Regions from separate parts of the Homo sapiens genome. Here region 2 is linked to region 1. The links are contacts of gene promoters, found by promoter capture Hi-C in human tissues and cell types (Jung and others, 2019). All regions are on one chromosome and are shown on one strand. Each heading gives the region's core, a stretch centred on a gene start or on the middle of the fragment in contact. The rest is flanking DNA. Distances are from core to core; before and after follow the strand shown. Region 1 holds the start of GJA9 (gap junction protein alpha 9). Region 2 has its middle 20 kb from the start of PABPC4.

The links. The method cuts DNA at HindIII sites, captures the fragments that hold promoters and counts their contacts. A contact is called where the count stands out against the background at its distance.
Region 2: a fragment that was not itself captured here is called in contact with the fragment with the promoter of GJA9 in region 1 in 1 of the 25 tissues and cell types used here (lymphoblastoid cells).

What each region holds. Positions count from the first base shown.
Region 1 is chr1:38,879,288-38,884,173 of GRCh38, forward strand. GJA9 (gap junction protein alpha 9) reads right to left here and starts at 2,300. Exons shown (of 2, transcript NM_030772.5): 1 at 2,145-2,300. GJA9-MYCBP (GJA9-MYCBP readthrough) reads right to left here and starts at 2,339. Exons shown (of 3, transcript NR_037637.1): 1 at 2,145-2,339. RefSeq lists a silencer at 340-524. The HindIII fragment of the contact is 16,120 bases long and covers 1-4,886 here.
Region 2 is chr1:39,594,888-39,599,435 of GRCh38, forward strand. No RefSeq gene overlaps it. Among named protein-coding and RNA genes, the nearest start is that of PABPC4, 20 kb to the left of the region's middle. RefSeq lists silencers at 2,862-2,951, 3,702-3,831. The HindIII fragment of the contact is 3,448 bases long and covers 615-4,062 here.

The DNA.
Region 1 (4,886 bases), core at 1,050-3,549:
TTTCATTATTTTTCATTTAAAATATAAATGTATGTCCTGTCCCCTTTATATAAAGGGAACTGTTACACAATCAAACAAACTACTAAGATACAAGATGTGTTCATCACTAAAATCCTATGCGGTAAGTATGTTGTTTCCCCCATCTTACAGATGAGGAAACGGAAGCACACCTTAATTTACCTGAGGTCACACAGCTGGAGCTGGCATTCAAACCCAATCATTGTGGCTTTAGAGTCAGCTCCTTAAATTTTTTACTAAACTATTATTTTTCCTCTGTAAGCAAACTTCAAATTTGCCGGAAAGAAACATTAAGAGATTATCTGTTTTCTCTTAAGTTTAATCATTTAAATTTAGGAATGTAAAATAGTGATAGCTTTGGCTTTTTAAATAACTAGTTCTAGAGTCTTTAGTTCCTTTCTTCAGCCTTTGTTCTGTTTTTTTTGTTCGTTTGTTTTCTGAGACGGAGTCTCGCCCTGTCGCCCAGGCTGGGGTGCAGTGGCGCGATCTCGGCTCACTGCAAGCTCCGCCTCCCGGGTTCACGCCATTCTCCTGCCTCAGCCTCTCCGGGTAGCTGGGACTACAGGCGCCTGCCACCACGCCCGGCTAATTTTTTTGTTATTTTTAGTAGAGACGGGGTTTCACCGTGATCTCGATCTCCTGACCTCGTGATCCTCCCGCCTCGGCCTCCCAAAGTGCTGGGATTACAAGCGTGAGCCACCGCGCCCGGCTCTGTTAATACGATTTGCAAAAGCATCAACCTTCTAAAATATAGTTGTATTCCTGAAATAGAGAAACTTTCCATTGACTTTATTATGTTAATAATAGCATACTCTGGCCGGGCACGGTGGCTCACGCCTGTAATCCCAATACTTTAGGAGGCCGAGGCCAGCGGATCACTTGAGGTCAGGAGTTTGAGACCAGCCTGGCCAACATGGTTGAAACCCTTGCTCTACTAAAAATACAAAAATTAGTCGGGCGTGGTGGCGGGCGCCTGTAGTCCCAGCTACTCGGGAGGCTGAGGCAGAAGAATCACTTGAACCCAGAGGCAGAGGTTGCAGTGAGCCGAGATCACACCATTGCACTCCAGCCTGGGCGACAGAGCAAGACTCTGTCTCAAAAAAAAATAAATAATAATAATAATAATAATAATAATAATAATAATAATAGCATACTCTGACCCAACAACCCAAAGCACTTTAAAATGTAAGCAAGTTGGCCAGGCGCGGTGGCTCACGCCTGTAATCCCAGCACTTTGGGAGGCACAGGCGGGCGGATTACGAGGTCAGGAGTTCGAGACCAGCCTGAGCAACATGGTTGAACCCCATCTCTACTAAAAATACAAAAATTAGCCGGGCATGGTGGCACATGCCTGTAATCCCAGCTACTCAGGAGACTGAGGCAGGAGAATCGCTTGAACCTGGGAGGTGAAGGTTGCAGTGAGCCGAGATCTGGCCACTGCATTCCAGCCTGGGCAATAGAGTGAGACTCTGTCTCAAAAAATAAAAAAAAAGTAAGCAAGTTAAGTCTCATTTATGGTTCATAAATAATAATAATGTAAGCAAAGATGTAATTCATGTTGTTTATAATAGTCATAAGCTAAAAACATAAAATAATAATACAAGAAAAACTGGTTAAATAATCGACTACATCCACGGTGTGATACTATGCAACCAGTAGAAATGATAAACATACATAAAATGGCATTTGATATTTCATTTCAGTGAAATTGATGTTATAAAATAGAATAATATGGCCCCATTATTATAAGTTTAGTTACATTTACAGATGTATACAAAAAAGTCTAGAAGGATATTCATGAAAATATTAACGGTGATTAGCTCTGGATGTTGGGATTACAAATTATATACTTAATATATTGTAATTACATGTATTTTAATTTTTTACTATAAGCATTTTACTTTTATAATCATAAAAAGAAAGAAAATATTTTTTTCATAAAGGACAACACATAGTATTTCCTGAAAGAAGGAGCAGTAGTATTTAGCTACAAATTAAAGCTTTCATAGCAAATGACATAAAAACTGGTATACATATATACAGTACCATAGAATTCAAAAGAAAAAGATAAAAACATTTCAAACAACTCTTTCTTAATAAGCTAAAACAGAGAGATTAACACAAACCTTTCTTAGTTTAGGTAAATCTGAGAAGCAAACCATGTTTAGAAGTTACAGCATGGCCATCTTCAATTTATTTTCTGAATTTGTCCCTTTGCTGGTATAGAGCAGATTCAGTTCAGTTGAATGTAGTGAGTGAGTCATCCATCAACTAAAATCCATGTCCCTTTCTGCTTATCCTTGCTTTTAAAACAGCACCATCCAATAGAACTTTCTGCAACAATGGAAATATTCTATCTGTGCTAGCCAATAAGGCAGCCAGTAGCCAAATGTAGCTATTGAACACTTGCATTATGGTTTGTGTGTCAGAGCAATTGAATTTTTAATTTTAAATAATTTTAATAAAAATGTAAAGAGCTGCATCTACCTAATGGCTGCTTTTTTGGACAGCACAGATAAAGAATGCTTATAATAGTCCTGATAACACACTGCAATCTAGAAGACTAAAGTCATGAGCCCCAAATTAAGCTGAGTGAATGATTCCTCCATAATTCAGAGATGTCAAATTTAAAATGACAGGAGGTATTTGTGTGCTGTTTGTATGCAACTTTTGCCACTGGGGGAACCTAATAAAATGTCATTGTTTTTTGTGCAATAAACCATGTTTCTAGAACCAAAAAAGTCTTTCTTACTAGATAATAACTTCTTGGTCATCTGCCTTAATAAATGGGTCATGTCCGATTTCATAGATAGATCCTGATTCTGTCTCCCATGTTCTGTTATTAACAATTACATTGTATTTTAGGTCATTAAAGGTCCCTTCAGAGCTAGTGATCTGGCAGGTTGAGCATAACAGATAAATACTTCTTCCCTGGGCTTTTTTGCCAACAATAGCTACTTCTCAGATTAAATACAAACATTTCACCAGGGACAAATATATATATATATATATATATATATATATATATATATATATATATATATATTTACATATATATTTTTATATATATATTATTTATATATATATATATTTGTATAGGCACACATACATGCACAATATATTCATGTTTCTATATTATGTGTTATCTGAATTACATATGTGTAACTCATAAATTATTAATAAACTCGAAACTTCCTCAACCTCGGTAGTCAGAGAATACATATTTAAGTGAAATATTATTTTTTAACTATCAAAATGCAAAATTTTAAAGATTTATAATACCTTCTTTTGGCAAAGTAGGGAGACACTGTTACTCTCATATCCTGTAGGTAAGAATATAAATGGATACAGCTATTTAAAAGGCAGTTTAAACCTATCAATATTAGTATAGCATTTCTGCTTTTGGATACTTGAAATATTCATTCAGCATAGACATTCAGAGACACACTGCACATGCTAGGATGTTCACATAGCACTGTTGGTAATTATACAAAAGCAGCAATAATTTAAATGTCTGACAGAGGAATGGTTATCTATGGTACATCTATATCATTCAGCAATTCAGAGAATAAAGATTTCTATGAACTAATAGAGAAAGGTCCCTAGGTCATGTTGTAAAGCAAGTTATAGAACAATACATGTATCACATTTATCCTGTTAAAACCTACATTTCATAAAAATATCTAATTAGAGGCTGGGCTCATGTCTATAATCCTAGCACTTTGGGAGGAGGCTGAGACAGGCGGATCACCTGAAGTCAGGAGTTCAAGACCAGCCTGGCCAATGTGGTGAAACCCAGTCTCTATTAAAAATACCAAAAATTAGCCAGGCATGGTGGCACATGCCTATAATCCCAGCTACCCGGGAGGCTGAGGCAGGAGAATTGCTTGAACCCAGGAGGCAGAGGTTGCAGTGAGCCGAGATGGCGCCACTGCACTCCAGCCTGGGCGACACAGCAAGACCCTGTCTCAAGAAAAAAAAAAATATATATATACACACACACACACACACACACACACACACACACACACACACATATATATTTAGCTAAAATCGATTAACAAAAACTTTTCCTAGTTGAGATCAATCTGAGAAGCAAATGATGCTTAGGAGGAGTTATACCATGGACACCTCTAATTTGTTCTTCAGATTTGTCCCTTTGAGGGTGTAGAGCAGATTCAGTGAAGTTCAATACAGTGGATGAGTTGGACATTAACTTAAATCCATTTTCCTTTCTGCTCATCCTACATAGAAAAATGTCTGCAAGGATACAGACCATACTGTTGTGACCACTGATGATGGTCAGCACTAGGGAAAAACAGCAGGTTTGAAGTGAGAAGGCAAAAGGAGATTTTTTTTTTTTTTAAGACAGGGTCTCACTCTGTCACCCAGGCTGGAGGGCAGTGGCATGATCATAGCTCACTGTAACCTCGAACTCCTGGGTTCCAGTGATCCTCCCACCTCAGCCTCTGGAGTAGCTAGAACTACAGGCAAGCACCACCACACCTGGTTATTTTTTATGTTTTTGTAGAGTTCTTGAATGTTACCCAGGCTGTTCTCAAACTCCTGGGCTCAAGCAGTCCTCCCACATTGGCCTCCCAAAGTGCTGAGATTATAGGCATGAGCCACTGCACCTGGCTGAGATTTTATCTTTTAACTTCTTGTTTGAATCTTTGTTTAACCAAGAACACACTCATAAGGCCAGGCATGGTGGCTCACACCTGTAATCCCAGCACTTTGGGAGGCTGAGGTGGGTGGATCACTTGAGGTCAGGGGTTTGAGACCAGCCTGGCCAACATGGTGAAACACCGTCTCTACTAAAAAATACAAAAATTAGCCGAGTGCAGTGGTTCACACCTGTAATCCCA
Region 2 (4,548 bases), core at 1,089-3,588, 720 kb after region 1:
CTGGGAGGATCACATGAACCCAGGAATTCACTAGCCTGGACAACATAGTAAGACCCTATCTCTAAAAAAAAAAAAAAAAAAAAAAATTCGCCAGGTGTGGTGGCACACACCTGCAGTCCTACCTACTCGGGAGGCTGAGGTGGGAGGATCATTTGAGCCCAGGAGTTTGAGGCTGCAGTGAACTGTGTTCACACCACTGCACCCCAGTCTGGGTGACAGAGCCAGGCTATATCAAAAGAAAGAAAGAAAGAGAAAGAGAGAGAGAGAAAGAAAGAAATCATATAACTCAGTTCCTGAAACATGCACAGAGTGGCCTGTCTGTGGATGCTGTTGTTGCTGCACTGGAGACCACAGGGCCTGACTGGGTGTGACCCAAAGTCCCGACTGTGGTCAGCCTGACTGGCCCAGGGATCTGGGCTCTCACAGGGGCACTGGACACACCGTCCTGAATCCTGGAGCTGACACTGAGACAGGAGGATCACAGGAGGATCACAGGAGAACCCACTGAACTGGCCTTGAGTCAGCACAAGGACACAAAAGAAAGAAGATTTTGGTTTTGGAGGGCAGGGCTTGTGTGGGCACTGGTGGGAAAGCCCAGCTCCCTTCTCCTCCTGAACACCCAAATCTGATCCCCCAGTGGTTCCTCCCGGATGCCTGCAACAGCCTCCTTCTCCGTCTCCCCTGTAATCCACTCTACACATGGTAGACAGAGTCCTTTTTCAGAAATGTAAGTGAGACCATGTCGCCAGCCTCTCACCCAGCTGAAATCCTGCTAGAGGCTTCCCAAGGCTCTTAAGAAAGGAGCTGGCAAAAGTCTTTTCCAAACTGAGGTGATAAGGTGGACAATTTTAGGTGGATGTGGAAGGACATTTTAAAATTTCACCTGTGAATTAGAAAAATAGAAGTGTTATGTCATTCTTTAATTTCATGAATATTCTTGCTTAGGAGGATATAAAGGGAGCCAATTTAAAGAAAAATATTAAAGAAATGATAGTACAAGAGGAGCCACCATCGATGGTACTAGAACAAGGCTCAGGAAATTAGACCTCTCTTCAGTTTCATCGGGGGCTGTCTGTCCCTCCCTCCCTGGCTCTAGCTACACTGGTCTTGCAGGTCCTTGAAGATGTCACATGCTCATCTGCCAGGAACGTTCTGGAATGCTCTTCCCAATCTCACCCTTGCACTATATTCCCATCTTTTGCTAAAATAATGGCCCTCAGATCGTGGCTCCAGTGTCCCTCCCTGGGAGTCTCGTGATCAGGGGACCCTGCCGTCGTTATCTCATGGTCCTTCTACTTTTTCTTCATAGCACTTACTGCCATTTGTGATGATCTCTTGTGTGTCTGTGATTACATCTATGCCCCCTCTAGAATGTAAGCTTCTCAAAGCTGGACTGTGTCTTGCTCACCCTCTATGCTCAGGGCCCAGCCGGGCCAGGCACGTGCTAAGCACTCATCTGAATGCAGCATGTGCGAACAGATGCATGCACCCAGTTACTCACCCTGGTGGCTCCTGCCTCAGTCCCTGGCATGTTGACACCACTCAGATTGTGGCTGCCCCTGTGGAGTTAGGAATTGCCTCGGCATCAGCCTTCGAACAAGGGGCTCCACGCTGTCATTTTGCACCTGGCCTCACAAATGATGTAGCTGATCCTGAGCAGAAGATTGAGGAAGGTGGAAAGTAAGGACACTGGGGTGGATGACCCCTTTCAGAGCACGCAGAGAAGGCAGGAGACATGGGGTCAGGACAGTCTCTCCCAGCTTGGACCTTGTGCTGGCTTTTCTTTGAGGAGTCATGGAGATTAGATCTAGGACCTCTTCCTGGGCAGGGGAAGGGTCCCAGAAGAGCCATGCGGGTGGGGTCAGAGTTTCTGCCTTGGGTCTCAAAGGGCCTCAAGCCTGCGCCCCCTAGCCATGGCTTGGCCTCTTCCTCCTGGCCTCTCCCCACACTTCAATGTTTGCTTATCCTGGACCCCACAACCCCCTTATGCTATAGGAAGGCATAGGTCCAGAGTATGCATTGTTTTAGTTTAAACATTTAAAATATAGAAAGCTCAGAGGTGAACTTAACTAACGCCCATGTGCTTACCACTCAGAATAAGCAACTGTTAACATTTTTGCTTCAGATTTTTTTTTATATAAAACAAATAGAGCATCATAGACAGAGCTGAAGTTCCCTTTGTTCCTCTGCCCAGTCCAATTCCTCCCCTCCTTTCAATCCCAGGAGCAGTTGTTACTACTAATCTGATGTGTTTCCTTCCAATCTATTTCGATGAGCAAAACAGAATGTGTGTTAATGGAAGCATTATTCCTCACAGCCAAAAAAAAAAAAAAATGGAAACAATCCAAACGTCCATCAACTGATAAATGGATAAACAAAATGTGGCCTATCCATATAATGAAATATTATTAAGCAATAAAAATAAATCAAGTGCCAATCCATGCTAACATGGATCGGCCCTTTTTTTTTTTTTTTTTTTTTTTTGAGACAGGCTCTGGGTCTGTCACCCAGGCTGCAGTGCAGTGGTGCGATCTCTGCTCACTACCACCTCTACCTCCTGGGCTCAAGCCATCCTCCCACCTTAGCCTCGCAAGTAGCTGGGACTACAGGCACGCACCACCACACCTGGCTAATTTTTGTATTTTTTGTAGAGATGAGGTTTTGCCATGTCACCCAGGCAGGTCTCGAACTCCTGGGCTCAAGCAATCTGCCTGCTTAGGCCTCCCAAAGTGCTGGGATTACAGGCGTGAGCCACCACACCCTGTGTGATCAACCTTGAACACATTTTAAGTGACAGAAGCTAGATGCAAAAGGCTACGTATTATATGACTACATTTATACAGAATAGGCAAATCCACAGAGACAGAAGCAGATTAGTGGTTGCCAACGGGGAAGAGCAGAATACAAGTGGCTGATTAACGGGTGTGGGACTCCTTTTTGGGGTGATAAAAATGTTCTAGAATTAGGCAGTGGTGGTGGTTGCAAAACATCTGCAACCACCACTAAGATGGTTTTCCTTTCTTTTTCAAGGTCGTATAATATTCTCCTATGTGAATAAACCACATTTTCTTTATTGTTGCATCATCAATGACCATTTTTGGGTTGCTTCTAAACAACAGAAAAAACACTGAATTATATACTTTAAAATGGTTAAAATGATGACTTCTATGTACTTGAAAAAACACATAACATTGTTTACCCTCTGACCCATTTTAAGTGCAGGTTCAGTAGCCTTAAGTGTATTTAAAGGCTTGTGAAACAGACATCTAGGACTTTTTCTGGCTGCAAAACTGAAACTGTGTATCTACTAAACATGAATTCTCCCTCCCCCACCTCCACACTCAGCAATCACCTTTCCACTTTCTGCTTCTATAATTTTGACTGCTTTAGATTCTTCACATGAGTGTAATCATACAGTATTTGTCCTTTTGTGACTGGCTTATTTCTTTCTTTCTTTTTTTTTTTTTTGAGACAGAGTTTTGCTCTTGTTGCCCAGGCTGGAGTGCAATGGCATGATCTCGGCTCACTGCAAACTCCGTCTCCTGGGTTCAAGCAATTCCTGGGTTCAAGCGATTCTCCTGTCTCAGTCTCCCGAGTAGCTAGGATTACAGGCACCTGCCACTACGTCCAGCTAATTTTTTGTATTTTTAGTAGAGACAGGGTTCCACTATGTTGGCCAGGCTGGTCTCGAACTCCTGACCTCAGGTGATCCACCCACCTCGGCCTCCCAAAGTGCTGGGATTACAGGCGTGAGCCACCGTGCCCCGCCAGATCAACCTTGAAGACATCTTAAGTGACAGAAGCCAGATGCAAAAGGCTACCTATTACATGACTACATTTACACAGAATAGGCAAATCCAGAGACAGAAAGCAGATTAGTGGTTGCCAAGGGGGAAGAGGAGAACACAAGTGGCTGATTAATGGGTGCTGGGCTCCTTTTTGGGTGATAAAAATGTTCCAGAATTAGGCAGTGGTGGTGGTTGCAAAACATCTGCATATACTAAAAACCACTGAGTTGTGTACTTTAAAATGGTTTAAATGATGACTTCTATGTACTTAAAAAAAACACGTAACATTGTTTACCCTCTGACCCATTTTAAGGGCAGGTTCAGTAGCCTTAAGTGTATTTAAAGGCTTGTGAAACAGACATCTAGGACTTTTTCTCGCTGCAAAACTGAAACTGTGTATCTACTAAACATGAATTCTCCCTCCCCCACCTCCACCCTCAGCAACCACCTTTCCACTTTCTGCTTCTGTAATTTTGACTGCTTTAGATTCTTCACATGAGTGTAATCATACAGTGTTTGTCCTTTTGTGACTGGCTTATTTCACTTAGCATAATGTTCTTGAGGTTCATCCATGTTGCAGCATGTGACTGGATTTCCTTTCTTTTTCAAGGTCGTATAATATTCCCCTATGTGAATAAACCACATTTTCTTTATTGTTGCATCATCAATGGCCATTTTTGGGTTGCTTCTACCTCTTGGCTATTGTGAATAATGTTGTAATGAATGTGGGTGTGCAACTATCTCTTTGAGATCCTGCTTT